Linked DNA regions of Homo sapiens: regions 1, 2, 3, 5 and 6 are each linked to region 4. The links are contacts of gene promoters, found by promoter capture Hi-C in human tissues and cell types (Jung and others, 2019). All regions are on one chromosome and are shown on one strand. Each heading gives the region's core, a stretch centred on a gene start or on the middle of the fragment in contact. The rest is flanking DNA. Distances are from core to core; before and after follow the strand shown. Region 1 overlaps MADD (MAP kinase activating death domain). Region 2 overlaps CSTPP1 (centriolar satellite-associated tubulin polyglutamylase complex regulator 1). Region 3 overlaps AMBRA1 (autophagy and beclin 1 regulator 1). Region 4 holds the start of CKAP5 (cytoskeleton associated protein 5). Region 5 overlaps CSTPP1 (centriolar satellite-associated tubulin polyglutamylase complex regulator 1). Region 6 has its middle 7.5 kb from the start of PACSIN3.

Region 1 (3,830 bases), core at 403-2,902, 460 kb after region 4:
TTGTAAAGTTTCTGCAGAGAAATCTGTTAGTTTAATAGAGATTCCCTTAAATGTGACTTAACACTTTTCTCTTGCTGTTTTTTTTTTTTTTTTTTTTGAGACGGAGTCTCACTCTGTCACCCAGGCTGGAGTACAGTGGTGCAATCTCGGCTCACTGCAAGCTCCGCCTCCTGGGTTCACACCATTCTACCTCAGCCTCCTGAGTAGCTAGGACTAAGGTGCCTGCTACCATGCCTGGCTAATTTTTATGTATTTTTAGTAGAGACGGGGTTTCACCATGTTAGCCAGGATGGTCTCGATCTCCTGACCTCGTGATCTGCCTGCCTCGGCCTCCCAAAGTGCTGGGATTACAGGCGTGAGCCACTGCACCCGGCCTTCTCTGGCTGTTTTTAGAATTCTCTCTTTGACTTTTGACAATTTGACTGTAATGTACCTTGGAGAGGCCTTTTTTTTTTTTTTTTTTGAGACAGTCTCACTCTGTCACCCAGGCTGGAGTGTAGTAGTGTGATCTCAGCTCACTGCAACCTGCGCCGCTTGGGTTCAAGCTTTTCTCCTGCCTCAGCTTCCTGAGTAGCTGGGATTACAGGCATGCACCACCACGCTCGGCTAATTTTTTTGTATTTTTAGTAGAGATAGGATTTCACCGTGTTGGTCAGGCTGGTCTCGAACTCCTGACTTCAAATGATCTGCCCGCCTTGGCCTCCCAAAGTGCTGGGATTACAGGCGTGAGCCACCGCATCTGGCTGGAGAGGACTTTTTTGGGTTGAATCTGTTTGGGGACTTTTGAGCTTCCTGGATCTGGCTGTCCATCTCTCTCCCCAGACTTGGGAAGTTTTCAGCTATTATTTCATTAAATAAGTTTTTTATGCCTTTCCCCTTCTCTCTTTGGAAATCCAATAATATGAATATTTGTTTACTTAATGAGATCCCCTAAGTGTTGTAGACCTTCTTGACTGTTTTCCATTCTAACTTTTTTCCCTCTGACTAATTTCGAATGACTTATCTTCAAATATAGAGTCATTCTTCTGCTTGATCAAGTCTGCTGTTGTAGTTCTCTATTGTATTTTTTCCTTTTTTTTTTTTTTGAGACGGAGTTTCGCTCTTGTTGCCTAGGCTGGAATGCAATGGCACTATCTCGGCTCACCGCAACCTCTGACTCGTGGGTTAAAGCAATTCTCCTGCCTCAGCCTCCCAAGTAGCTGGGATTACAGGCATGCGCCACCACACCTGGCTAATTTTGTATTTTTTAATAGGGACGGGGTTTCTCCATGTTGCTTCGGCTGGCCTTGAGCTCCCAACCTCAGGCGATCCACCCACCTCACCTCCCAAAGTGTTGGGATTACAGGTGTGAGCCCCCACGCCTGGCCCTCTATTGTATTTTTTAAACTTTGTTCATTGAATTATTCAGCTGCAAGATTTCTGTTTTTTTGTTATGATTTTTATCTCTTTGTTGAATTTCTAATTCATATCATGAACTGTTCTTCTGATTTTGTTGAATCATCTATCTGTATTTTCTTGTATCTCATTGCATTTCCTTAAGATCATTACTTTTAATTTATTTTCTGGCAATTAATTGATTTCCTTTTCATTGGGGTCTATTACCAAAGAGTTATTATGTTCCTGTGGTGGAGTCATATGTCCTTGTTTTTTTCATGTTTCTTATGTCTCTGTGTTGATACCCCACATCTGGCAGAACAGTCACTTCTTCCAAACTCTCTGGAGTGGCTTTCATAGAGAAAGACTTTCACATGCAGTTGGGTTTTAGTGTGCCAGTTGGGAAGGGTATGGCAACTCTGTTTCTGGATAGATGTAGTGGTATGTTTTCTGTGTAGCTTCTTCAGCTGCATTCAACATGAGCAATAACTATGGGTGCCTCAAGAGTCCTAGGCTATAGAAGTGTGGCAGTGGCAGTGGTGGTATATGTTGTTAATATCCTTGGTGTCAAGGAGTTTTGGAGTCCTCCTATTCTCATTTTCCTCACAATGGAGTGACTCAGCCAAGAGAATCCCTCTTGGTGTCAGGTCTGACTGACATGGCCTACAAGCAGCTGCAGAGGCACTGGGTTCCAGGTACAGATGCGTGGAGTAGCTGTGGAGTCAGGTTTCCAGGCTTAGGGTCTCACAAACCTATTGTGGCACCTGGGTATTGGGGTACAGATTTGCTCTCTGTGGCAAGGTTGGATGTAGGTTGCCCACAGAGCCAGGATCTGAGGCACCCGCTAGCAGCTCAGGCCCAGGGGACTGGCTCATAACTGTGATTCTAATACTGGGGGATAGGCCATAGCACTGGCCTTACTCTGTGGAAGAAGGGGTGCTCTGGAGGTTTGGGCCTAGGGAGCAGGGTACAGCTGCAATTCAGGGATCTGAGCCAATAGGGCTCAGTGGCAGCTCAGGTCCCACGGAATGAGGCACCATGTAGTAGTGACTCTAGACTCCAGGATGGTGGGGCTTGGCTGTATCCTAGACTCTGTGAAGCCAAGTGCAATGGCAGCGAATACCCCAGCGTGGCAGAGCACAGCTGTCATTTGGGCCCTGGGGGTCAGGGAGCAGCACAGCAATGACTCCACTCCCCAGGAAGAGGGTATCTTAGCAGCTCAGACTCTAGGGGCAAGTCCAGTTCCAGGGAAGCAGGGTACTGGAGTTGTTTGGCTAGGGCAAGGTATCTCAGCTCAGCCACTGCTCTGTTTCCTGGGACATGGGGTACTGTGTCAGCTCAGCCCTGGAATGCGTAGCTGCTCAGCTTGGCCAGCCACCAATTCCCCTGGGGACAATGTGCTGCTTTAGCACAGGCCTAGTGTGGGCATGACTGTTCTGGGTGACCCAGGCACAGTATCATTGGAATGCAGGGTGCCGCTTCAAGTTAGGTGCTAGGATGCATGACTGCCCTGGGTGGCCAAGGCACCATTTCCTGGGATACAGATTGCTTCTTCACCTTAGGCACCAGGGAGGCCTGACTGCTCTGAGCAGTCTAAGTACTGTTTTCATAGTGGATAGGGTACTGCTTCAGCTGCAGCCCAAGGGGAGTGGGGAGGGGTAGGTGGAGTGGCTCTGCCTCCACTTGGCCCCTTGGGGAATCATGTAATAGCTGCTCACAGCTTGGCTTAGATTGTCAAGACATCAGGCTAGAGTGGTTTGTTGGTGGCTTAGCCTCAGGAATGAAGGGGAGCTGTGGCCATCTGTCCCCAGAGCAAAACACAATCCCACTGTAGCTCCACTTCCAAGATGGCATAGCACAGTAGCTGCACAGGCCACAGGGGCTGGCGCATAGTATTGGCTCCTTCTCTGGAGGGAGCACAGCTGTATGGACTCCAGGCAGCTCCTTCAGCTGGGCTTAGTGCCTAGAGGACTGTAGGGAAGCCAGTGGTGAAGTCTGTAGGTGTCCAAGGTGCTGGTGGCAGTTTCTAGAATTGTCTTGCTTACTTCCTTGCTGTGGGGAGAAGTTCCTCCTTGTTCCCAGCTGATCCTAGATGGGGGAAGGGGGATGGGGGGGAGGCCTGATATTGCCATCTGTTCTCTATGTGGCCATCCTGAGTTTCTGTGCTCATCAGCATTCCTGTCACCCTTCTGATACACCCCCACAGTCTCCCTCAGTTATTTTTGTTAAAAGTATAGCTGTTTATTACTCTACCTCTCTTTGTGAGGGGGATGTGCTTTAGGGGCTGCTCGGCCATCTTGCTGACATTACTCCCCTAGGCTGTTTTTTTTTGTTGTAACTTTTTAAAAATGTTTATTTATTTACTTTTGAGACAAGGTCTTGCTCTGGTGCCCAGACTGCAGTGCAGGGTGCAGTCATGGCTTGGTGCAGTCATGGCTTACTCCAGCCTCAAACTT
Region 2 (3,991 bases), core at 1,322-3,821, 300 kb after region 4:
GACACCTTGACCTGAGGACACCCTCCAGCCACCCCATGACTGACACCTTGACTTGCGGACACCCTTCAGCCACCCCATGACTGACACCTTGATTTGGGGACACCCTCCAGCCACCACATGACTGACACTAGTCATGTGACCTCCTCAAAGAAGTCCAGTCATGGAAAGTGGCTCTTCTTTCTGGCCGTGGCTGAGGGCTGGCTTCCCCCAAAAGTAAACTGGAAACTAGATCGCTGGCTTCTGCCTGAGACCTCTGCCTGGTGGATGCTGGCAGCACGCATTTCCTCTGGGCTCTATTTTTATTTGCTCTTTTGGGCTCTCCCAGCACTTTAAACCAGATAGAATATACTTACTGATTACAGCCGGCGCTCATTCTGAGCACCTGTTAGACACTAGCATATATAACATCATCATGCTGACTCTCCACAAGAATCCTGGGAAACAGGAACTATGATTATATCCTCTTCACAGATGAGGAAACTGAGGCTCAGAGGGAAATTGTCACTTGGCCAGTGAGTAGTGGAACTAGGACTTAATCCTGGGGTCAACTAATCCAGAACTTCAGGAAAACCGGTGCAGCCCGTGCCACTAGACCAGGGAAACTGACCCTAATTAGGGGTGAATAGGAAGTTGGCAAGTCAGTAGGTTCAGGCTGGAAGCTGTTGCTTCCTTGGCACCCTTAGAACTCCCAGCCAGACTGCCTATCCCAGCTGCTGGAAGTCAGCAGGGGAGGGAGAAAGTGGCCAGTCTCTCAGACCAGCCACGTGCTCTTTCTCCACTCCAGTTGCCTGTCCTAGGCTCCACCCCACACATGGTTCTGCTCAGCACAGCCTGAACCAAAGTGCCTCTACTTCTCCCCAAGAGTCCCTCTCTCTAGCCCGGAGGCATGGTCCGCAAGGGTCCCTCCATGATCCAATAGATTTGTGCAGACTCTCACTGGCAGCAGCTCCCTGTTGGCTCCACTTCAAAGCAGGGGCGGCCGGGCACCTCCAGGTGTCAGAAGCAGCTGGCACGTTAGCAGAAGGCCTCTGGCAGGAAGGGGTGTTGAGCCAACTGCCAGCAACTGGAAAACAGCACATGGGGATGACCTCGTCTCCAAGAAGATTCTTTCCCGAGCCCTCTGGGAGTGGCAATGAGCTTGAGTTCAGAAGGAAGGAGCTGTCTGTGGGGATAGAAGGGTTGCAGGCAAAGGCAAAGAGGCAAAGACAGACCAGGAGCTTCCTGCTTGCCTTTTCCCATAGTTCTGCTGAGATTCCAAAGCAAGATGCAGATGCCCACAGCCAGAAAGATCCCATAGGTGGGTTAAAGACACAGATGCCTAGAACTTTCATGGTCTCAGCATTCATTTGGAGACAGACAGCACAGCATATGATGTGATTAAAAGCACCTTTCAGTAAGTCTTCTGCAGCCATAGACCTCTGAACATCAAACTGTCCCCCCACTAGATTTAACACTAACAGGAGGAGCTGTTAGTTCTGTCCACCCTTGGGACAACACTGTCAGAGCTGGAAGAAGCCCTTTGGGAAGTATGAGCCTTCAAACTTCTGCTTGAACATTTCTGGCAATACACATCTCATTCCTTTACAAATCAGCCACAATCCTAGAACTAAGCAGCTTGAAAATGTCTCTAGAGCCAAACTCTAGATCCCCGTGGCATCTCCCCAAGAGGCAGTCCTTTGAGAGTTGGGTCTCAGCCTTCACTTCCTCCCTAGTCTTCACTTCTAAGCAAAAGATCTAAATGCAGCCATTTATCCAGTATCCTGGTTTTTAGACTGTCCATCAGCCTGACCCTCTTCTCCAGGACTCTAGTTTACTCCCCTTAAACGGACTGTCCAGACCTGAAGGTAGTAGTATTTGAATGACAGCTCTTTTGCTCCTAGCTTGTAACCTTCGCCAAGTTTCTTAATCCCTCTGAATGTCTGCATTCTCCATAAAGATTGTAAGTATCTTTATGAGAGGGATTAAGAAACTGCTCCAGGTGCCACCTGGCCAGAGGAAAAGGGGACCGTGGCTTCTCTCACTCATTTGTTCATGCATTTCTTCATTCAACAGACGTTGACTGAGTGCCTACTATGTGCCAGACACCATACCAGAGTCAAGCCACAAGCAGGGAGACAGAGGTGTCACTTGGTAGATCTTATGTTCCCAGGACAAAGACAACAGTGTGAGGAGGTTTCCGAGAACTGCAGAAGCCAGTAGCAGGGGGGCCTATTCTAGGCTGGGTTAGAAAAGGTGCTTTCCTCTTTCATCTTCCCCAAGAGATGCTGTGGAGGCTTCAGCCTGAAGAATATGGAGATATCCGGTAGGTGAGGAGGAGGCATGGAGGGCAGGGAGCATCATGGGTAGAAGGGACAGGGAGCATTATGGCTAGAGGGACAGACTTGTCTGGAGGGCATGAGTAAGGACAGCTTCAGGGAGGATGGAAGGACTAGTGTGGCCAGAATGCAGTGGGGGAGTCGAGGGAGGCAGGGGGCAGATGGAGCGGGCTCACAGGCCAGATCCAAATGGGGGAACGTGTCCTAAGGGCAATGGGAAGACTGTGAAGGTTTTTTTTTTTTTTTTTTTTTGACATGGAGTCTTGCTCTGTCATCCAGGCTGGAGTGCAGTGGCACAAGCTTGGCTCACTGACATGGCCACCTCCCAGGTTCAAGCGATTCTCCAGCCTCAGCCTCTTGAGTAGCTGGGATTACAGGCATGAGCCACTGTGCCCGGCCTCTGTGAAGGGTTTCCAACACAATGGTAAAATGGTCACATTCACATTTTAGGAAAATCTTTCTGCCCACAGGATGGATACTCAATTAGAAGAAGGCTCACGCCTGTAATCCCAACACTTTGGGAGGCCTAGGTGGGCAGCTCATGAGGTCAAGAGATCAAGACCATCCTGGCCAACATGGTGAAACCCCGTCTCTACTAAAATACAAAAATTAGCTGGACATGCTGGCGCACGCCTGTAGTCCCAGTACTACTCGGGAGGCTGAGGCAGGAGAATCGCTTGAACCTAGGGGGCGGAGGTTGCAGTGAGCCACTGCACTTCAGCCTGGTGACAGAGTGAGACTCCATCTCAAAAAAAAAAAAGCAAGAGGAGTAGTTGCAGGGAAACTGGGTAGGAGGTCATGCCATCATCAAGAAAAGAGAGGTGAAGGCTGGGGGTAGGATGGTGGCTGTGGACGTGGAAAGAAGTAGATGGATTCAAGAGAAATTTCAGCAATAGCATTGATAGGACTTGGTGACTGGTTGATTGGCTTGGAGCAGAGGGTGGCGGGGGGAAGTTTCCAGGATGTCTAGTATGCCCAGCGTTTCTGGTTGAGGAGAGTCATAGCCGGTGTTGCTGTTAACACAAGCTCGGATCCATTTGGCTTTTTAAAAGGTAGCCAGTCTTACTTCTTGCAGTTGAAAAAAAACCCTCAGTCCTTTATACATGTGCTGCTGGGATCCAGCCACATGTCCCCCAGAAAGAAAGCCCTCGCCTCTGTCTGCACCCGCTTCACTCGCCCCCTACTCCCTCCTGCTCGGCATATGTTTCAGCTCCCCAGTCTCTGAGACTCAGACTCTTCACCTGTAGAATGGAAATAACAATAAGACCCACCCGTAGGACTGTTGTAGAATAAAATTTAATTAATGTAGTCAAATGCCTTAATAGCCTGCCATGAGGTAGGGTACTCAGGAAAGATACCTGCCTCTATAGGCGGATCACTTGAGGTCAAGAGTTCGAGACCAGCCTGGCCAACATGGTGAAACCCTGTCTCTACTAAAAATACAAAAATTAGCCGGGCATGGTGACAGGCACCTGTAATCCCAGCTGCTAGGGAGGCTGAGGCAGGAGAATCACCTGAACCTAGGAGGCGGAGGTTGCAGTGAGCCGATCTGCACCACTGCACTCCAGCCTGGGCAACAGAGCAAGACTCAAAAAAAAAAAAAATGCCTCTATTGTTACCCGTATTAAGGGCACCTGCAGGGCTGCCCTGCTCTGACGGACACTCCTACCCTCCCA
Region 3 (3,976 bases), core at 1,195-3,694, 280 kb before region 4:
AGTAATAATACCTTCCTTCTATCTTAAAGGAATAAAATCCTTGGAGAATCTTAGGGGAAATGGGTTATAAAATTTCAAGACAAGATTATTACTTTTCAAAGTAAAACTCAAGATAGAACAATAACCAGAGTATGTGATAAACAGAAGTTCACACAAAGAAGTCTCGCACCTACAGTTCTAAGAGAAAGATTGCAAAGGAAACTACAGTGATTATAAAAAGCCACAGATTACATTATCTCTAATTAACCACCTGACAAATTGAAAACAAATAATTCAACAGAACTAAGATCAATCAATTAAAATTATACACAGTCCCTTTCTTTATAAGAAGCCAAAATCCCAGAAATAAACTGTCAACAGACAGAACCTGCACCTCTACTGCACACAGGCAGCAGCATTAGTTTTTTATATATAAACTCAAAATAAGACCGACCTCTGTATAGGATATATCACAAATGGGCTAACAATTTTACAAAATGTTTTGAAGATACAAAACTGAGTAAATTCTAATTACTGTAACTATAATAAGGGGGGAGAAGTGAAGCACCAGCTTTCCTGCTACAGATTTTGCTTACTAGAGCTTTCTAAAGTAACTCACAATGATGCTGCCTAATGTCTGAAACACGGGAAAGCTTGTGCTCAAAACAAAGTGTGATCAAAACCGGAAATAGAAAGCAATAAGACCCAAATTTGAGACTGACAATTTTCCTTACTCCCACTTACCTCAGAAGGATGAAGAAAAAAGAAACGGAAGTTTTATCTGCAAATTATTCTGGAGAAAACAGTGTGCTGAGAACACAAGAACTCCTAAAAACGGAAGGAAGAACAAGGAGGAAAGCACTAAACCAAGAAGAAACTGAAGCTCAATTTTTTGGTTTCAAGCTATCAAAAGAATCAAGAAGACCAAGAAGGCTACTCTTAAATGTACAGAAATGGCAAAAGATTTCCTATTAGCAAGCAACAAAAAAAGAGTAGCTTCTGATGGAAGAAATTTCAGAGGCAAAACAGCTTAACCCCAGAAACGGAAACTGAAACCAGCTGCCTCAAACAGACCTAATGACTTTGGCAACAATATACCTTTCATCCACCAACAATATCAGGAGGCTGGAGTAGGGCCGATTTCAAATCATAAAGGATCACATCTTTCTATTCTCTGCATAGTCTTTGAGAAAGAATCCAACTCCTTCCTGGGAGCACCACATTGCCCCCAATTCTTCCTGGAAACCCCTGGAGCTACAGCAAGAATATTGTTGGGCCAGGCGCAGTAGCTCACACCTGTAATCCCAGCACTTTAAGAGGCCAAGGCAGGTGGATCACCTGAGGTCAGGAGTTCGAGACTAGCCTGGCCAACACGGTGAAACCCTGTCTCTACTAAAAATACAAAAATTAGCTGGGCGTGGTGTCACGCGCCTGTAATCCCAGCTACTCGGAAGGCTGAGGCAGGAGAATCGCTTGAACCTAGGAGGTGGAAGTTGCAGTGAGCCGAGATCATGCCATTGCACTCCAGCCTAGGTAACAAAGTGAGACTCCATCTCAAAAAAAAAAGGAAAGAATATTGTCAGAAAAAAAAAAAAGCTTTGAGAACATTAACCCAGGAATCTTCACAAGTCCTAGGACAGATGTGATTACTCATCAGACAAATAAGAAAAACAAAACCTGGAAGAGGTTAAGAAATTCATCTAGATTCACAGATGAGTCTGGAGCCAAAGCAGGATTTGAATTCAGGCTTTTCCTTCAGATAGTACCAGAGCTACACTCCCAGTCCTTGCTTGGCTTAGTAGATACTGTGTTCAGTGTTTTCCAATCTTATAGTCAGCCCAGGTCAGGTTCTTGGCTGACTAAAATAGGGAAAGAAAAAATTTCCCTCGAGGCTTCAAGAAAAGAAGTCAAATTATTAAACACAGAGTTCTTATGCTAAAAGGCCGACATGCCACCCTACCATGCCAATCACATTTCTTAGCCAATCAAAAGAAGGCATTAGATTTAAGAACCTAGTTATTTAAATCTGAGTAGAAGCTGGATTCCATTTCCCCAACTTTCCAAATAAAGAACACTTAAAGATGGGGAAGGATGTAAAAGCACTGATAAATAACCAACAAGCATTGATTAAGCAGGTATTATGTTGGCACTGTTCTAGGCACTGAGGATACTATAGTAAAGAAGAACATTCTTGCCCCCCAAAAGCTTATGTGATTTTTATATAATTAAATATTAACAATACTTTCAAGTACTGAAAAAGGCTAGAAAGAAAATATGGCAGGTGAAAGAAAACAACACACCCTTTTACCTGGGGTGGCCAGAGAAAGCCTCTCTGAGATGACATTTGAGTTAAGACTGGCATCTTGAAATAGAAACCTTGAGAAAAGAGGCAGGTGAAAAAAATATTTCAAGGAGGATGAGGAGTACCAAGTACTAAGGTCCCTAACAGGTAAGCTTAGCGCATGTGAAGGCCGGAAATAAGGCCAACATGGCTGGAGCACCACTAACAAGGAAGAGAATAAAGACAGGTTGGTACTAGCAGACCATGATAAAATTTGGATTTTATTAAGTGTAATGGGTTACTATTAGAGGATTTTAGCTAAGGAAATGACAAGATGATGGGAATTTGGGCCAGGGTTATAGCAATATAAGAGATGAATAGTCATACTCAGAATATATTTTGGAGAAACAGCTAAGGGAATTACAGATGCATTGTATTTGAGGTGTGAGAGAGAAATGAAGAGTGATTCCTAAGTTTTGGGCCTAAGTCCCAAGTGGATAGTGGAGACACTTATTGAGAAGGGTTCTACTATATGTGTTATGTTTGCGGGTGGGGGAGCAGATTAAAGGGATAAATCAATAGTTTAGGATCACTTTCTATTTTTCTATGAATATGAGCCTGAGAAAATATGAATTCAAGAGAAACTTAAATTTTTCCTATAAATTAATAGTATAATAAATATAATGCAACATTGGTTCTTTTTTTTTTTTTTGAGAAGGAGTTTCACTCTTGTTGCCCACGCTGGAGTGCAATGGCATGATCTCGACTCACTGCAATCTCCGCCTCCCAGGTTCAAGCGATTCTTCTACCTCAGCCTCCTGAGTAGCTGGGATTACAGGCACATGCCACCACACCTAATTTTTTATATTTTTAGTGGAAACAGGGTTTCACCATGTTAGCCAAGCTGGTCTCAAACTCCTGACCTCAGGTGATCTGCCTGCCTTGCCATCCCAATGTGCTGAAACTACCGTGCCTGGCCTGCTTCCTATTCTTAAATAATTATACATAACATTTGAGAGTCAAGCAAGGTAGATCACACCTGTAACCCAGCTAACTCAGGAGGCTAATGGAGGAGAACTGCTTGAGGCCAGGAGTTCAAGACCAGCCTGCAACATAGAGAACATAGACCTCATCTCTTTTTTTTGTTTGTTTTTGTCAACCAGGCTGAAGTGTAGTGGCAGGATCTCAACTGAACTGCAGACTTGACTTCCCAGGAGTAAGTGATCTTCCCATCTCGGCCTCCCCAGAAGCTGGGACTACAGGTGTATATAACTACGCCCCAGTAATTTTCTTTATTTTTTGTAGAGACAAGGTTTCACTATGTGCCCAGGCTGTTCTCAAACTCCTGGGCTCAAGGAATCCTCCCACCTCAGCCTCCCAAAGTGCTGGGATTACAGGCATGAGCCACACGGCACCCTGATGAGAAACCTCATTTCTTTAAAAGAAACCATCAGCCAGGTGCAGTGGCTCATGCCTGTAATTCCAGAACTTTAGGAAACAGAGGCGGCCAGATCACTTGAAGTCAGGAGTTTGAGACCAGCCTGGCCAATGTAGTGAAACCCCGTCTCTACTAAAAATATGAAAATTAGCTGGGTATAGTGGTGCACACCTGTAATCCCAGCAACTCGGGAGGCCGAGACAGGAGAATTCACTTGAACCTAGGAGACGGTAGTTGCAGTGAGCCAAGATCACACCACTGTACTCCAGGCTAGTCTG
Region 4 (3,884 bases), core at 1,263-3,762:
TAAGTGTTGACAGAACTATGAAAGTTGGAAGCTGTGTCTCCTATATGTAAATGTGTTTTATTAGGAATGGATATTATGTCTGGCTGGGGAACACTTCCCCTACCTAGTATTGCAAAAACAAAACCTGTTGATAAAGTCCTAATAGAAGCTACAGTTAGAAAAGTGAGGGTTAGCCAGGTGTGGTGGCTCACACCTGTAATCCCAACACTTTGGGAAGCTGAGGCGGGTGGATCATTTGAGGTCAGGAGTTCGAGACCAGCCTGGCCAACATAGTGAAACCCTGTCTCTACTAAAAATACAAAAAATTAGCTGGGCATTGTGGTGCACACAAGAAGTCCCAGCTACTTGGGAGGCTGAGGTGGCAGAATCGCTTGAACCCAGGAGGCAGAGGTTGCAGTCAGCTGAGATCGCACCACTGCACTCTAGCCTGGGCGAAAGAGCAAGACTCTGTCTTAAAAAAAAAAAAAAAGGAAAAGAAAGTGAGTGTTGATGGAATTAAGATAAAAGTTTACAGGAGAGTTGGTATATTCAAACACACTTCATATGAGAGCATAAGAGCTCCACACCCTTCTCCCATACCTACAAGCCCTACGCCTCTCTTCATCTGTATGCTTTGTAGCATCCTTTACAATAAACCGTGAAGGTAAAAAACAAACAAACAAACAAACAAAAAACACCAAAAAAACAGGTGCTGCTAAAACTGAACTGTCAGTAGTAGAAGACTGCGATGGAATTACCACACCCACTGTTCATAATTCAAACATAATTCAAAACTGATCAAGACTTTAAAGTAATGGAGAATAAAGTAAAAGGCATGTTAATTGTTACGGAATACCTTTGCTTGCCATTGCCTCAGTGAACAGCCTTTTAAAAAATTTTTTTTCTTTTTTTTGAGACAGAGGGTCGCTCTGTCACCCAGGCTAGAGTGCAATGGCGGGATCTTGGCTCACTGCAACCTCTGTCTCCCGGGTTCAAATGATTCTCTTGCCTCGGCCTCCCGAGTAGCTAGGATTACAGGCGCCCGCCATCACGCCCAGCCATTTTTTGTATTTTTAGTAGAGAGAGAGAGAGAGAGACGGGGTTTCACCATGTTGGCCCGACTGGTCTCAAACTCCTGACCTCGTGATCCGCCCGCCTCGGCCTCCCAAAGTGTTGGGATTACAGGCGTCAGCCACCGCGCCCAGCCTAAAATCTTATTTAAAAATTTTTTTACATGAGTTTACCAACTAGATTTAACTTATGGTTGCAAAATAAATTGATTTCACCTTTATCTATATCATTAAATTTGGTAAAAGCATTACAGTTTGTCCAGTCACTTCAGAGAAGTCAAAGTCTTCTACAATTTCTTAAAGTTTCAAAAGATTCTTAGCTTAATTTATTGGCTCTTTAGGTCAAAAGAAGGACTTTTCAGGGTGATGAAAATGGAGGAAGGAGGAGCTCACCTTTCTAAAAATGAGTTTTCAATTACTATAATTATGCATAAGACAGGCAGCATTTCTGGGCCAAGATTTGATGCCTTGGTCCCATGAGAATTAAATTAGAGCCACGCATAAATTTGGGGCAAGTTCTGCAAAAACCACTTCAACCTCTATTGATGCTGAATAAAAAACTCATTGTTAAGATTCATCAACACGAATATATTTTCTAACACACACTAGCCACTCTGGCAACAACCCTTTCATCATTTTCTATCCAAGAAACACAACGGAATGCATTTCAATCCTGCTCAACAATTACCACGATTACAAGTAGAGGGGAGAGCTCAAAAGTAAGAATCTAGTTCACCGAGCCCGACCTTAAAGTAGCAAGGCCCAACCCACACTGCTGGCTATTGTATTGGTTCCCCAACACCTCCAGGGCTGGAAGGACACCAGAACGCTCCCGACACGTTGAGAGAGAGAAAGCCAGTCGTTAAGGGCGGGGTGGTGGATGATCGGAATCGTTCACATCGCAGCAAGCCAGCAGGGACACAGGTGTGCGGCCAGGCCCCGGTGCCGCTGTCCTTGCTCCAGGGCGACAAGGCCCTTCGCAACCACCACAGCCCTCGTAGGCGCTTACTTATTCATTCACTTGACAATTACGCGAGAGGCACTCTAGCAGGGCCGGCTCTCGGGGCCCCCGCCCTAGTCTTGGTAAATCGCTGCCGCCAGGCGCGGCCCTGCACCGCCCGCGCCCCGCGGACGCTGCCACCCGCGCCACGCTGCGGCGCGCTCTGGCCACCTGGAGCCCAACCCCGGCCTCCGCCGCACACGAGCGCCCACGCCCCCGGCCCTGCCCGCCGCAGGTCCCCCGGCCTCCGGCTCGCTTCGCCGCCTCAGACCTGCCGGGTTCGTGGGGCAAGTGGGGCGCGCGTCTGGAGACCTCCAGCCGCCCAGGATTCAGGGGCTCCTCTGCGCGCGCGATGCCTGCACTCGAGGGCCTCGCGGGTGGGGCAGGCCCACCGACCACTCACCTCAGCTGGGTCAGAACCAAGCGGCCTGCTCTAAGCCGTTTGAAACCGCTTGGGCCGCCGCACACCCCGCAGTGTCCTCGTTCTTTATTGGTCCTCGACGGACCGCCCATCGGACTTTTATTGGTCCATTTGAAAGGCCTGTGGGCACGCGCCGCCCGCAGCCTTAAAGGGGCCGCGCGCAGCCGTGTTTCCCTCTGGACCAGACGCCGCCTGCACGGGTGGGGACGCTGGTCGCTGCCGGGGGCAAGTCTGCCGACTCCAGAAAGAAAGGCGAAAGAATGTGTGTAGACCCGGGCATCCTTGGTCGTCAGCATGTTTGCTTTATTTAATTACAGATGTTCAGGCTGCTGTCAACACCCGACAATTTTTTTTGGTCATTTCATTCCCTAGAGATTGTGAAGCTAAGTGCTGTGAGGGAAACCAGAGGCAGCTGAGATGTCGTGGAAGTAACAGCGAATGAAGCCAGGATGCTGGATTCTGACCTTGGAACTGTTCTGAGTAAATCACTTTTCTCAGTAAATCTTCTGGAGTTGTTTCCTTATCTGTAAAATGGGATAACGATGTTTCCCTTACAATTTAATGGAGGAGTTAATATAACTAATAGAATGTCTGAGAAAAGCCTTTGTGAACTGTAACGCATCCTGCAAATGCTTAATATTCCCTTATAAAAACGAGAGGCTTGGTTAACATGATCTCCAGAATTTTAGCTTAGCTCTACATTCAGTGTTTCTGTGAATGAGTTCAGGTCCTTACTTCCAAGGAATTTGTAATCTACAGTGGTTGGAGGAATATAACATACAGACTAGTCACTAAAATTCAAAGCAGTGTAATAACTGTATAAATGAAAAGCTATAAATGCTTAGAGACAGGAGAAATTTGATGGGGGAGGATCTGTGAGGAAGATGAATTTTTAACCTAGGATTTAAAGAATGTGTAGATTCCCAACAGGCTAAAAGATGGAGAGAGGATGGATAAAAGTAAATGAAACAATTACATGTTTTTTCATTGTCAAGTTGGCAGAGATGAAAAAGTTCAACAGCCTTTGGTTGGTCAAGATTTGGAAAAACAGGCTGGGTGCAATGGCTTATGCCTGTAATCCTAGCGCTTTGGGAGGCCGAGGCAGGAGGATTGCTTGAGGCCAGGAGTTCAAGACCAACCTGGGTCTTGCTATCAAGACCCCATCTCTGTTTTTAAAAATATAAAGAGATTTGGAAAAATGGACACTCAAAGTCAATATTGGTAAGAGTATAATTGGTACAAACCTTTAGGAGGACAATTTGACAGTTACTAAAATGTACATAATCTAGTTCTGGCCCAGTAATCCACTATGAGGAATTTATCGTACAGATCTGTGCAAGTATGCAAAGAAAAATGTACAAGGATGTTTACTGCAATACTGCTTTTTTTTTTTTTTTTTTTGAGACAGTCTCGC
Region 5 (3,431 bases), core at 827-3,326, 260 kb after region 4:
TCTAATTATTTAATGTTCTTGTCTTTTGAGCTACCTGAACCTAATGAATGCAGTCCACTCTATCTCAGGGAGTTGTTTTGCTTTGGTTTTTTGCCTCTATTTGGCACCAGTTTCCTGTTTGGACAGTATTGCCTTTTATTTTCATGGTTTTTTTTCAAGGAGTTTGTCCAGGAGAGAAGGAGACATCCACCTGAAACCTACTCTGTGAAGCAAATGAATATGTTTTTTCTATTAGAAGATTCTCCTAAAATGTTCTGAAGTTTGTTCATATCTGGGAATTGAAGCACATTGAATTAAGAAAGAATTACTTCCTCCACCTCCACCCCTGCAATAGAGATTTATACTGGACAAGGTGGCAAAAAAAAATTAGGGGGAAACTGCTCGGTACAATTCCCCCCCAGTTCCCTTGGGGCAGCAGCGTGCTGCACATGAGGAATCACTGTACCTTGTTCCCCTGGCAGTGATACTTCTCTGTGGCCAGGCAAATACAGTAGTCCAGGCCTTCCACAACTTCTGCATGTGCGCATGTGCGCACACACACACAGACGCTCAAAACCATACCCCTCCTGGGCATCCCCTTAATAGAGGCATCCAGTATATTGCAAAGGTACTCATCACTATACACAGTGCAAATACTCAGCACTCGTTTATAGCAAACCCAGTATGAATAATTAGCAATAGTTTGGGATCTGGCACAACCCTTAATTACCACAACTAGAGGCCAGAAAATGAAATCAGGGTCATATATCTGAGGTTAGAACTCTAGAATCTGTCTGGCATCCTATAGCCCAAAGCACCACAGGGAGGTACACCTTGGAGCAATGGGAGCACTGTCATCCAGGAGACACTGTCCCCTCACTTTCCTCCAAAACCAGCACAGCTGTTTGCACGAGGGCTATCTGCCGTATATACAGTGAGACTAAGATATATATACACACCCTGGCGCTTCGCCTGATTTCTTCTGTGAAGTCCATCTGTTTATCCAGTTCCAGATCCCAAAAGGCAGTCACCAAAAACTAAATAGTGAGAAGGGACAGGCTTTTTTTTTTCTTTTTTGATAAACATGTTACAGTGAACAAAACAGATTTTGCAAACACATTCCATCTAGTAAATCTTACCTCACAGCTGTGTGAGAAGAGCTTGGAGGAGAGAAGGATGGGGAGCAGGAGGGTCTCAGGACTTGATTGGAGAATTAGAAAGTTCAGAAACCCACAAGGGTGGGACAGTTCAGTACTATCTACTTTTTTTTTTTTTTTTTTTTGAGATGGAGTCTCACTGCGTCGCCCAGGCTGGAGTACAGTGGCACAATCTCAGCTCACTGCAACCTCGGCCTCTTGGGTTCAAGCGATTCTCTTACCTCAGCCTCCTGAGTAACTGGGATTACAGGCGCCGGCCACCATGCCTGACTAATTTTTGTATTTTTAGTAGAGACAGGGTTTCACCATGTTGGTCAGGCTTGTCTTGAACTCCTGACCTCAAGTGATTCGCCCACCTCACCCTCCCAAAGTGCTGGGATTACAGGCGTGAGCCACCGCCCCTAGCCTATCTACTTCTTATAGGGTGATAATTGGCCTTTTCCCTTCATTCTAGCCCCTCATCCTAAACCTGGAATCTGTGATGGGCTCACCAAAAATGAAGATCTGGCTGCAGACTTTGGCTTCTTTCACTGAAAAGCTGATCTAGCCAGACTTTATCTTCAAAAGACAGGCCCTGCACTTCTGATGTTCCCTGAGCCTCTCCCACTGAGCCTACTCTCGTCCACTGTAGCCATGATGCTCTCTGGATTCAGACAATGGTGTGTTGTCCCAGAACACTGTATCTGGCCTGTCTGTGCTTCACATCTACCCCTTTGGCTAGGAAAATGAGGGACAGAGCTCACATCAGTAACTTGGATTCTGAGGACCGAGGACAAGCAGAAGAAATTGACCTTTTGCCTCAGAGGTGGCTGGATGTTTGTGTGTCTCTCTTCGATGTCAAATTGGCTCACTGAACCACTCAAGAGTTGTTTTTTAAAAATGTTCTGCTCACTCCTCATTTGCGGGTCAGATGCTTTGGATAATCCAGTGGAATTCTCTCTGCTTCACTGCTGGTTGCTGCCAGACACAGAGTGCTAAATCCTGTCAGTCGGTGACTTGAAATGATGATGTGTGAAACAGTGCTGCGATTTGGACATCCTGCACTCATTTGCATGGACTCCTTTGCCAGTTAACCACAGTAGTGAAATGGGGCAGCCTGGGGCAGCTTCCACAGCCCTTGCCTTATCTTTCCTCAGTGTCCCCACCCTCCCCCATGGCAGTATGTAGCTCCAGTAATTGGTAAGGCTTGGAATTCTGTTTCATTTAATATTATTCCCTTCCTAGGCATCATAGAGCAATTTCTTTAACATGCTAGATTGCAACATGCCAGAGACAGAGAAATAGCATTTGTGTGCAGAATGGAGAGGCGGGAAGCAAAACACTCTTGTTGCTGATTCCCATCTCCCGGTCTTTGCCCTTCCTTCTTTCCCTAGATTGCATGGCTGGCTGATTCTCATCTGGTGAGTTCTCAGCTCAAATGGTACGTTCTCAAAGATGAGCCTGGCACAGCCATCTCATGTGGTCCCACCCTCAGTCACTGTGTATCACACCACCCTGCCTGATTTATGTCATTGCTCTCCTCACTTCCTAAAAGTATTTCTTTCTTTGTTACTTTTTATTCTCTGTCTCCCCAACCACTGCCTCCACACATACACACTAGAATGTAAGTACCATGAAAATAGGGATTTTTATCTGTCTTATCCCTTGCTGTTTCCCCAGAATCTAGCACAGTCCCTGGCATACCTTTGACACTTAGTATATTGACTAAATAAGTAGCTAAGAATGTAGCAATTAAGAACTTCTAAAGCAAATATCCATGGTTACTATCAGGAAATAGTAAAGGCAGACAGACAGAGAGTTTGAGGAATGGAATGAGAAGACATGATTTCTTATACTGATTTTAATAATGGTCTTAATTACAAATTGAATACGTTAAGTCAAAGATCACAATATCGAGTCGCTCTTCATTTCTTCTGACTCAGACTAAACTGCCCCTTATTGAGTAGGTTAGGTCAGGGTCATAGAGACCAAGTACTACAAACTTCCTGGCCAAACTGGCATAATTGATGCCACAAAGTATGCCCACTTCCAGATTTCCACTGGGTGGTGCCTGGCTTTGCTTTCCTTAGGGCAGTTGCCAGAAGAAACTGGCACAATTTAAAGCAGTTTAAAGCCCAGCCTGGGTATCTTCATCTAGCCTTTATTATATTCTTGCCTGCCTCCAGTTCCCAAAAAGACTGCATTCCTGTCTGCAACTCCAGGGCCCTGAAGCCCCTTCAGTCATGAAAGCCATGGAGGTGGGTTAGCCCTGATCCACCCAGCGTGAGACAGTATGACCAAGAGAACACATCTTTT
Region 6 (3,966 bases), core at 1,331-3,830, 350 kb after region 4:
AAAAAAAAAAAGAAAAATTAGCTGAGTGTCGTGGCACATACCTGTAGTGCCAGCTACTGAGGAGGCTGAGGTCACCGGAGCCTGAGAGGTCAAGGCTGCAGTGAGCAGTGATTGGGCCACTGCACTCCAGCCTGGGCAACAGAGTGGGATCCTGTCACAAAAAAAAAAAAAAAAAAAAAAAAAAAAAATTAACAACTACATGTGAGTAGTGGCTACTGTATTGGACTGTGCAGGTCTCGAATCTCTAGAATAATGAGGTCATGATGGGGTGGAGGTATCAGAGGCATTTGAACCAGAGAGACTCCAGCTTGAATAGGGGCTGGGTAAAATAAGGCTCAGACCTACTGGGCTGCATTCCAAGGAGGTTAGGCATGCTGAGTCCAGCTGATAAAAGGATGCGATAAAGAAGCTGGCCAAAACCTACCAAAACCAATATGGCAATGTGACCTCTGGTCATCCTCACTACTCATTATACGCTAAATCTAATACATTAGCATGCTAAAAGACACTCCTACCAGTGCCAGGACAGTTTACGGATGCCATGGCAATGTCAGAAATTTACTCTATGTAGTCTAAAAAAGGGAGAAACCCACAGTTCCGGGAATTGCCCACCCCTTGACCAGAAAGCTCCTGAATAATCCACCCCTTGTTTAGCATATAATCAAAAAATAACTTAAGTATTCTTAGGGCCGGGCGCAGTGGCTCACGCCTGTAATCCCAGCACTTTGGGAGGCCAAGGCGGGTGGATCACGAGGTCAGGAGATCAAGACCATCCTGGCTAACAAGGCGAAACCCCGTCTCTACTAAAAATACAAAAAATTAGCCAGGCGTGGTGGCGGGCGCCTGTAGTCCCAGCTACTTGGGAGGCTGAGGCAGGAGAATGGGGTGAACCCAGGAGGCGGAGCTTGCAGTGAGCCGAGATAGCGCCACTGCACTCCAGCCTGGGCGACAGAGCGAGACTCCGTCTCAAAAAAAAAAAAAAAAAAGGTATTCTTAGGTGAGCAGCCCTTGCTGCTGCTCTGCCTGTGGAGTAGCTTTTTTTTTTTTTTTGAGACAGAGTCTTATTCTGTCACCCAGGCTGGAGTGCAGTGGTGCGACCTCAGCTCACTGCAACCTCTGCCTTCTGGGTTCAAGCGATCCTCCTGCCTCAGCCACCAAAGTAGTTGAGATTACAGGTGTGCACCACCATGCCTGGCTAATTTTTGTATTTTTGTAGAGACGGGTTATTGCCATGTTGGCCAGGCTGGTCTCAAACTCCTGACCTCAGGTGATCCACTTGCCTCAGCCTCCCAAAGTGCTGAGATTACAGGCATAAGCCACCGTTCCTGGCCAGAGTAGCCATGCTTTATTCCTTTGCTTTCTTAATAAACTTGCTCTCACTTTATTCTATGGATTCGCCTCAAATTCTCTTTCACCAGACCCAAGAACCCTCTCCTGGGGTCTGGATCAGGACACCTTTCTGGTAACAGAAGCAGATGGAAGATGAAGCTGGAAAGATAGGTTGGGATTGGATGGTGAAGATTTGCAAAGTGGGCTAGGGAATTTGGACGCTACCCTATAGGCAGTGGGAAGTGTCCATGAGAGTAGGTAGATCAGATTTCCCCTTTTATTTTATTTATTTATTTTTTTGAGACAGAGTCTCGCTCTGTCGCCCAGGCTGGAGTGCAGTGGTGCAATCTTGGCTCACTGTAACCTCCGCCTCCCGGGTTCAAGCAATTCTCCTGCCTCAGCCTCCCAAGTAGCTGGGATTACAGATGCCTGCTACCATGGCTAATTTTTGTATTTTTAGTAGAGACGGGGTTTCATCATCTTGGCCAGGCTGGTCTTGAACTCCTGACCTCGTGATCCACCTGCCTTGGCCTCCCAAAGTGCTGGGATTACAGGCATGAGCCACGGCGCCCAGCCAGATTTCCCCTTTTTAATGATAACTCTGGCCACCCTGCCGAGAGTAGATCAGAGCCGGCTAAGTGCTGCAGGCAGGGCTGTCTCCTCTGAAGGCTGCTTTGTGAGTTTCCCTCCGTGGCCTCTGGACATTGCCCCAGGATTCCTGACAGGCAGCTGAGTAAAGTATTCTAATTTCACAGCTATGTTTTTCAGAGCTCAGGCAGTCCCGTGTAAAGACTGGTCCCAGTTATTGAGAGCAGTTAACCTCAGTGGGGCAGGCTGTTTATAGGTTACCAAGGCAGACCGATGGCACTCGGGTGAAAATGAATCGCAGGTTTCAACAGTGCAGCCTATAGAGAAAGTTTCTCCAGGGTCAGGAAGTTACCCTATTAAAAAAAAAAAAAATGATGTTACCCTATATAGTCTAAAAAGGGGAGGAACCGGTAGTTCCGGGAATCTGCCATTGCCCCAGGCAGATTCTTTAGCTGGTCCCCGCCTCAGCAGGAGACGCCCCAGGAGTTGCCATTGTGTACTCCGGGTTTCAGCTCTGTTGGCCGGGAGGCTCCTGCTCCAGAAGCCTACCCTGGTGCACTTGGGCACCCATTGTGTGACCAACACCAGGCTGGGTGCTCAGTCCTTAATTCGAAGAAAGCAGGCCAGGTGCGGTGGCTCACGCCTGTAATCCAAGCATTTTGGGAGGCCGAGGAGGGTGGATCACTTGAGGTCAAGAGTTCAAGACCAGCCTGACCAACATGGTGAAACCCTGTCTCTACTAAAAATACAAAAATTAACCGGGCATAGTGGCGCACGCCTGTAGTCCCTGCTACTCAGGAGACTGAGGCAGGAGAATTGCTTGAACCGGGGAGGCAGAGGTTGCAGTGAGCTGAGATGGCGCCACTACACTCCAGCCTGGGTGACAGAGCGAGACTCCGTCTCAAGACAAAAAAAGAAAGCAGACAAGATGTCTACTTCATGGAATTTTCCACTGAAATCAAATAAAGGTCCAAAAACATCATTACCAATTGTCATGAGTGTTTGAAGGAAAAAAAAAAGGGACAGTGTGCTGGAAGAGGATAGTGGGAGTGTGGCTTCAGGGAGTTTAAGCCTCCACCCAAAAAGACCCAGAAGACAAATGGAAGTTAAGAAGGTGAAGAGGGGACCTAGGGAACGGCATTCCAGGCGGAACAACTGAAGACTGATGTATGAAAAGGTCCTTACATGAGAACTTGACCTTCCAGGTCAGAAGGGTGGAGTGGGCAGGGCACGGTGAATGAGCGGGTGAGAGGCCTAGAATGAGGTGGGAGAGGCAGGCAGCACCCAGACACTACCAGGCTTTGTGAGTTCTGTTCCGAGTGCAAGAGGGGGCCCTTGGAGGGATTTAAGCAGAGGAGGGAACTGAATGGCCTTTTTGGATGTTGCATGAGGAATGGATTAGAGCAAGGAATTAGCAAACCATGGCCTATATGGCCCACAGCTAAGACTGGTTTTTACTTTTTTTCTTTTTTTTTTACTTTTATTTATTATTATTATTATTATTTTATTATACTTTAAGTTCTAGGGTACATGTGCACAACGTGCAGGTTTGTTACATATGTATATATGTGCCATGTTGGTGTGCTGCACCCTTTCTTTTTTTTCTACAGAGACAAGGTCTCCCTGTGTTCCTCAGGCTGGTCTTGAACTCCTGGGCTCAAGTGATCCTCCTGCCTTGGCTCCCCAAAGTGTTGGGATTTCAGGCGTGAGCCATTGCACTGGGCCGGTTTTTACCGTTTTAAATTGATGAAAAAAATAATAAAAAGAAGACTATTTTGTGACGCACAAAGGTTATAGGAAATTCAAATTTTGGCATCTACAAATAAAGTTGGATTGGAACACAGCCACACTCATTTATTTATAAATTGCCTTTGGCTGTTTTCACACCACAATGGTAGAGTTAGTACCGTAGGTGCGACAGAAATCATATGGCTCAGACAGCCTAAAATATTTACTATCTGCCCCTTACACAAAAACTGGCCTGACTCATGGATTAGAAAGAGAGAAAAAGCAGGGAAATCCAATTAAGAAGTATCTGCGGTAGATGGT

The links. The method cuts DNA at HindIII sites, captures the fragments that hold promoters and counts their contacts. A contact is called where the count stands out against the background at its distance.
Region 1: a contact is called between a fragment that was not itself captured here and the fragment with the promoter of CKAP5 in region 4, in 1 of the 25 tissues and cell types used here (dorsolateral prefrontal cortex).
Region 2: a fragment that was not itself captured here is called in contact with the fragment with the promoter of CKAP5 in region 4 in 4 of the 25 tissues and cell types used here (IMR-90 fibroblasts, adrenal gland, dorsolateral prefrontal cortex and 1 more).
Region 3: a fragment that was not itself captured here is called in contact with the fragment with the promoter of CKAP5 in region 4 in 1 of the 25 tissues and cell types used here (dorsolateral prefrontal cortex).
Region 5: a fragment that was not itself captured here is called in contact with the fragment with the promoter of CKAP5 in region 4 in 1 of the 25 tissues and cell types used here (heart right ventricle).
Region 6: a contact is called between a fragment that was not itself captured here and the fragment with the promoter of CKAP5 in region 4, in 1 of the 25 tissues and cell types used here (aorta).

The regions. Positions count from the first base shown.
Region 1 is chr11:47,303,163-47,306,992 of GRCh38, forward strand. The region is part of intron 24 of MADD (MAP kinase activating death domain); the gene reads left to right. Among named protein-coding and RNA genes, the nearest start is that of MADD-AS1, 33 kb to the left of the region's middle. The HindIII fragment of the contact is 7,250 bases long and covers 1-3,830 here.
Region 2 is chr11:47,148,338-47,152,328 of GRCh38, forward strand. All of the region lies in intron 4 of CSTPP1 (centriolar satellite-associated tubulin polyglutamylase complex regulator 1), which reads left to right. Among named protein-coding and RNA genes, the nearest start is that of ARFGAP2, 27 kb to the right of the region's middle. The HindIII fragment of the contact is 3,742 bases long and covers 701-3,991 here.
Region 3 is chr11:46,559,846-46,563,821 of GRCh38, forward strand. The region is part of intron 1 of AMBRA1 (autophagy and beclin 1 regulator 1); the gene reads right to left. Among named protein-coding and RNA genes, the nearest start is that of AMBRA1, 32 kb to the right of the region's middle. The HindIII fragment of the contact is 4,353 bases long and covers 269-3,976 here.
Region 4 is chr11:46,843,768-46,847,651 of GRCh38, forward strand. It overlaps CKAP5 (cytoskeleton associated protein 5), which reads right to left and starts at 2,513. Exons shown (of 44, transcript NM_001008938.4): 1 at 2,453-2,513. It overlaps LRP4-AS1 (LRP4 antisense RNA 1), which reads left to right and starts at 2,644. Exons shown (of 3, transcript NR_038909.1): 1 at 2,644-2,732; 2 at 2,843-2,950. RefSeq lists enhancers at 1-697, 1,756-2,333, 2,788-2,907 and silencers at 2,168-2,317, 2,498-2,577. The HindIII fragment of the contact is 16,643 bases long and covers 1-3,884 here.
Region 5 is chr11:47,107,464-47,110,894 of GRCh38, forward strand. The region is part of intron 3 of CSTPP1 (centriolar satellite-associated tubulin polyglutamylase complex regulator 1); the gene reads left to right. Among named protein-coding and RNA genes, the nearest start is that of ARFGAP2, 68 kb to the right of the region's middle. The HindIII fragment of the contact is 6,222 bases long and covers 1-3,431 here.
Region 6 is chr11:47,191,965-47,195,930 of GRCh38, forward strand. No RefSeq gene overlaps it. Among named protein-coding and RNA genes, the nearest start is that of PACSIN3, 7.5 kb to the left of the region's middle. The HindIII fragment of the contact is 8,886 bases long and covers 1-3,966 here.